2 separate regions of the Homo sapiens genome follow, and region 1 is linked to region 2. Evidence: promoter capture Hi-C in 16 types of primary human blood cells and fetal thymus (Javierre and others, 2016). All regions are on one chromosome and are shown on one strand. The core of a region is centred on a gene start or on the middle of the fragment in contact, and the rest is flanking DNA. Distances in the headings are between cores, read along the strand shown. Region 1 overlaps LINC01934 (long intergenic non-protein coding RNA 1934). Region 2 holds the start of SESTD1 (SEC14 and spectrin domain containing 1).

Region 1 (2,700 bases), core at 10-2,509, 2.0 Mb after region 2:
AGGTAGAATGGGTGCCTCAAGGCAACTACGAACCAGAGATTGCCCTATAGGGCAAAGATACATTGTGTCAATATTCCCCAGACATTGTTTGTTTTATAAATATATATGTACATATAGATTCAGATGTTCAAATTAGACAGAAATGATATCTGTTATGTATGTTGCAAATGTTTATGTCCCTGTTTTTCCTTTTTTAAAAAAATGTATGATGTTCCTTGATGTAGACAAGTTTTACATTTTCATATTGTCAAATCTACCAATTACATACTTTATGGTGTCTAAATTTTGTAAATCTTAAAGAGTCCTTTCCCTCATCAAGAAAACATTATATTTACATCCATTTTCTCCAAATATTTTTATGGCTTTTAAAAACTTTACCTGGAGGCATTTTGTAGCTACATATACATATGTATGTGTATACATACATACACATACATGTATACATATATTTAATAACCAACCCTTGAGCTCAACATATTTTGTTGAATAATCCATTTTTTCCTCACTGATTTGAAGTGTTACTTTACCATATATTAAATTCTTATTGCTTGTCTTTTTTCTGATCTTTGTTTCATGTTCCATTGATATATCTGTTTATTCCTTTACTAGTTCAAAAATATATTTTTAAAAGCTAGCTTTGAAATATGTTAATATCTATTTGAACTATTTCCCCCACTGCTTTTATTTATCAGCATTTTTTGGATCTTTTCATGAATTTTCCTCAGATGATTTCTGATTGGCATTTTCTTCATAGTATATTAAAATTTAATATTAAATCAAGAGAAACTTTTAAAAAAACAAAAGACAATTCTATTTTTCTCCATAGAATTTGTTAACATTCATTCATTTGGAGAATGGAAATAATTACCTCTATCTCCATCTTCCTCATCATCCAGTTCTGTTAGAAACAAAATGCAATTTAAAAATTGCAAAGTAGAATGAAATGTCAAGGCTTATCTAGATAAAAAAGCTAGAAAAATATTTGTGACTTCAGTATTTGAGAATCAAACCAAAGAAGGTGAGGTTTTTTGCCTTATATTATCCAGAGAATATACATTTTATTTGTACATGTATTAATTTCAGGATTTCTTTTCTCCTGATTTCAGAGTTTGTGGGTTTTTTTTTTTCTTTGCTATAATGATTAAGTTCCCAGACTTTAATGTGACTTTTTCAGTCATTTTAATGATGGAAAAAAATATAGAAGTTGGCTATCAAATTTATCTTTGCTTCTCCTTTTTCCTTTATCTCTTTGATTATATCAAAATTTCATTATTGTCCTCAAAATTACTGGGTTTCCCCCCAGTCAATACTTATTCTTTTAGGCCTAGATTTATAAAAATAATACCAAACTAATCAATTGATTCATTTTCTCCTGTAATTACGTATGCATGTATGTATGTATTATGTATTCCTTTTGAACTTAATCTTTTCTCTTAAGAACTATCTGTGGTGTGTGACTTCAAAAGAAGATTAAATATTTATAGTTATTGGAGGGACTTGGGGGCCATGGATTTTGCAGAGTCTTCTCTAGTGATCTTCTGCACCACAAAGAGTCAAAGTCATTGCATTGGCTACTTTTGTCACTCTCACTCTTCATGTCCTCCAAATATACAAGGGAGATAGTGCAGGGACCAATGATTTGGGTGGTGTATTGTAAAATCATCTGTAAGAACCAAAGAAGTTTATAATCTTTCAGCTTTGAGGTTACAAACAGAGTAAACGATCTAATTGCTTGATATATAGGCCCATTCCCTGCTGTGGATGATCCTCCTGGCTCAGTTTTGGAAAATAAAGGAGCAGACCAAACTGAGCTAGAAGGGAGAAAAGATGATGAATGCCAAAGAATATCTTCACCTAAAGAGAATCAAAATTAGCTATGCCAACTTGAGATGCCATCAGTTAAGCAAGTAATTCATGTTATCCTCATCTATAAGGATTTCTGTGATATTTTTATCTAAAAGATTTTTTAAACTAATACTTATTGAGTTTTACCAAAAAAGACCATAATAAATAAAACGTAATATATTTTCATATAACTAATTATGTTCTGTAATTTTAGCACCTTAACTCATGGCAATAAATTAGCAAAAACTGAGATTATTTGGTAGTATAACTACCCACATTGAGCACAGATGTTCAGCAAAAGATTTAGGAACTATTTTGGAAGCTCTCATTAGCTGAGGTAAATTAGCAGAATATTTATGGGTAATATTAAACTGTTCAGGTTCATATTTTCTTTCTTGATTGTTTTATCGAAGTCTCATAAATAGCAACAGCTGGCTTACTTGTCCTTTAGAAAGTTCTTGTAGATATCAGTAAGACTGAAGCCCAATATTTAACGGTTCTGAATATCAGAGCAGTGGCCTGGCCAGAGGTCACTCAAGCAAGCTCAATCCAGCTCCAGCTCTGCCCCCCAACCCCCACCCATGGGCCTCCTCTCATCTCCAAGACTTTGCTTTTTCCTAAAGTAGTTTATGGAATTGTTACAGTCCTAAGTTGTTTTTCAGAAGGGATCTAATTTGCTGTAGGTTATCTATCTCCTAGCCCAAAAATCCTCTAGGAGCCTAACTGATATCCAGAATACAAGGGATATATAGACTGAATATGTGAGAAGGGAATTAGAAGGCTTTATTATGTTTGCCATGGATTCTTCTAACCCAAACCAATACCCTATATGCATGCCTCCTTCTTCATCTGATT
Region 2 (2,700 bases), core at 167-2,666:
CCAAAACAGAAAAAGTATATAGATATATGTGTGTCTGTGTATGTAGGTATGTATAAGGATTAGGATTTTGAGTGGCAATTTAAATTTGACGGTTTGCCAAGCTATGCTGGGATACATAGTGGGCATGCTTGACACAAGCAAAACGTGAAGTAAGAGACGACCTGTCAAACAGCTGCTATCTAGTTACTCCCTCGGCAGCACTCCCAACTTCTCCCGCGATGTCTGTGTGTAAGAGAAAGATGTCAAAGCACCAAGAAAACCACGGGGGCTGTCAGAGCAACAGCCAAGTCCAAACCGTGCATCCCAGGGTGAAATCCCACCCGTACCCTCAAGAGCTGGTCAGACTGCGGCTCTTTTCTAATATGAGTCTACCTAAAATAGAAAAATAAACACAACCACAGACCCTGGCCAACCCTCTCTCTCCTCCCCTTTGTGACTCTCCCAAACGCTGGAGGGATGTTAACCTCTGGCAGGCCCGTGGAAGCCAAGCCCCGCGACCTGAGGAGGCGTCCAGGAGCCTCGGCGCAGCCCTGGGGCCTCGAGCCCGTGTCCTCCACCCACCCGACAGGGCCGGTCACCGGTCACACAAAGGAGCCAGTCGCGGGCGCTGGACGCGGGACTCGCCCGAGAGCAGGGAGCCACATCTGGTTCCTGCACGCTGGCAAAAGAGACCCGCTGGAAAATAAGGACTAACGCCCAAACCTGTTGCACAATTCGGGTCCCTTTCACCCAGAAATGAACAAGGGCGCTCAGGAACGGAAAAGCGCGCGGCCCGGTCTCTGCGGGCCGCGGCCGCACCCGGCAGACGGCGCGGAGGCAAAGGCGGCCCGCAGGGCTCCCACCTCCGGCGCTTTGTCTGTGGCGGCAAGGCGGTGGGGGCGGTCGGGGCGTTGGGAGCAGAGGCGGTGGCGGGGCGGGGGCGCCCCTCCTTCACTGCGTAGCCCCTCCGCCCCGCGGCCCGCGCAGGGGAAGAAAGCCGGGCCCGCTACCGCCGCCGCCGCCGACTGCACCGGCCCAAGCCGGCCACCCGGCCGCGGGGCCTGCGCGCTTCTCCCGCCCGGGCCGAGCGGCGGCCACACTCACCTGGCTGGCGCTGACGCTAGCGGCCGGCGGCTCCGGGGCGTTGGGGAAGACAGGGGAACGCTAGCGAGGTGCGGGCGGAGGCGGAGGGCGCGGCGGGAGGAAGGCGGGCTGGGGGCGGAGCGGGCCCGGGCGGCGGCGGCAGCAGCGGCGACGGCTGCGGCTCCAGTCACTCGCGGCAAATCGCGTCCCGGCCCCTCCGTGCGTCAGGCGGGGAGCGGGGGTGCGGGTGGCCCGGCGACCTCTCGGCACCCGCGGCCCGAGCCGCGTCCGCGCGACCCCGCGCGCGCCCGGGTGACGGCGGTACAGCAACCCGCCCGGCGCGGGAAGGAGGAAGGAGGCGGGGCGGGGCGGGGCGTCCAACCGGGCCTGGGGCTGAGGGCTGGGCGCGAGTGGGACTCTGGCGCTCCGGACGGACCCTGCCGTCCCCACCCCTAGCCGAGGCCCAGGCTCCCCAGGCGGGAGGCAGTCTTGGAGAGTGGAAGGGTACCTAGATCTGGAGTCAGAAGTCTGGGCTTAAGAGAGGGTCCGTTACTTGACACCCTGGCAGGTCATTTATTTCCTCTGGCCTCATGCTGGAGTTCGAAGGTTCGAGTACAAAGTCTCCAAGAGCTGCTCCCAAGTACTCACTGCCAAGCGGTGGTGTGGCTGAAGGATGAAGGCAGATGAAAGGGAAAGGGTTGCGGTGAGGAAGGGCTGGATTCAGGGCATTTGTTTTGCTTTGAGGATCTTTCCACTGGACAGTCCAAAATTAATCCACAATGGGGCTCCCTGATAATGGCTACTTCCCCATTTTTACCAACCTAGTTATTTTTCTCCAAGTATACTGACTTAAGAGTCCTTGTTTTCATTTTATTGCGCAAATCATTTGTATGTCATTTCCTGAATTCAGTTCAAAAGAGTCATCAGCAAATTCACACCAGATCAGAGCAGCTGTGTGGTCCCAATTTCAAGACTTCCATATTATTCACTCAGCCACTCACTTCAGTATCACCTAATTCCGTTGATAAAATCTTCCTATTCCAACAACTAAGCAACCAAATTTCTCTCCACTAAAGTTTTCTGACTTAAAATCCCGTGGATTAATTCTTCCTCTTAATTCTGTGAATATCAGTCTGTCTCCATGACTTCCACCTCTTTGCCACTCTAGGTCAAGCCTTTAACTTCACTGCTGCTTCAGTTCCATATAACTGCCAGAGAGAATGCTCCAAAAAGACAGAGCTAAGCATGAAACGTCCCTCTTTAAAATCATTCAAAGTCTCTCCACCTGGTTGAATCAGGTTCAAACTCATTACCATGGTTTACAAAGCCATTTAAAATCTGATCTATTGACCTCCTTGGCTCCAGCTTCAACTCCTAATATATCTACGTATCACACAAATTCAACAGACTTTGTCTTTGTGCCCTTGTAGTTTTCCCCCACCTGAAATCCATCCCTCATTTAACCAGTTGAACTCCTATTGTCCTTCAAGATAATGAAGATAATGCATCCCTTCCTCCTTGGAATCTTCCCTGACATCATCTCCTTTCACCACATCTGTATCCTTACCCCACACATTTACAATGAATTAAATACTCTTTTTCTCTCTGCTTTCATAAAATCGTCTATCTACAGTATTC

Evidence for each region. The method cuts DNA at HindIII sites, captures the fragments that hold promoters and counts their contacts. A CHiCAGO score of 5 or more calls a contact.
Region 1: a fragment that was not itself captured here is called in contact with the fragment with the promoter of SESTD1 in region 2 in 1 of 17 cell types (M2 macrophages); the score reaches 5.3 in M2 macrophages.

The regions. Positions count from the first base shown.
Region 1 is chr2:181,248,058-181,250,757 of GRCh38, forward strand. All of the region lies in intron 2 of LINC01934 (long intergenic non-protein coding RNA 1934), which reads left to right. Among named protein-coding and RNA genes, the nearest start is that of MIR4437, 56 kb to the right of the region's middle. The HindIII fragment of the contact is 3,598 bases long and covers 1-2,700 here.
Region 2 is chr2:179,263,416-179,266,115 of GRCh38, forward strand. SESTD1 (SEC14 and spectrin domain containing 1) reads right to left here and starts at 1,417. Exons shown (of 18, transcript NM_178123.5): 1 at 1,084-1,417. RefSeq lists an enhancer at 149-218 and silencers at 547-710, 819-888, 899-1,518. The HindIII fragment of the contact is 5,018 bases long and covers 1-2,700 here.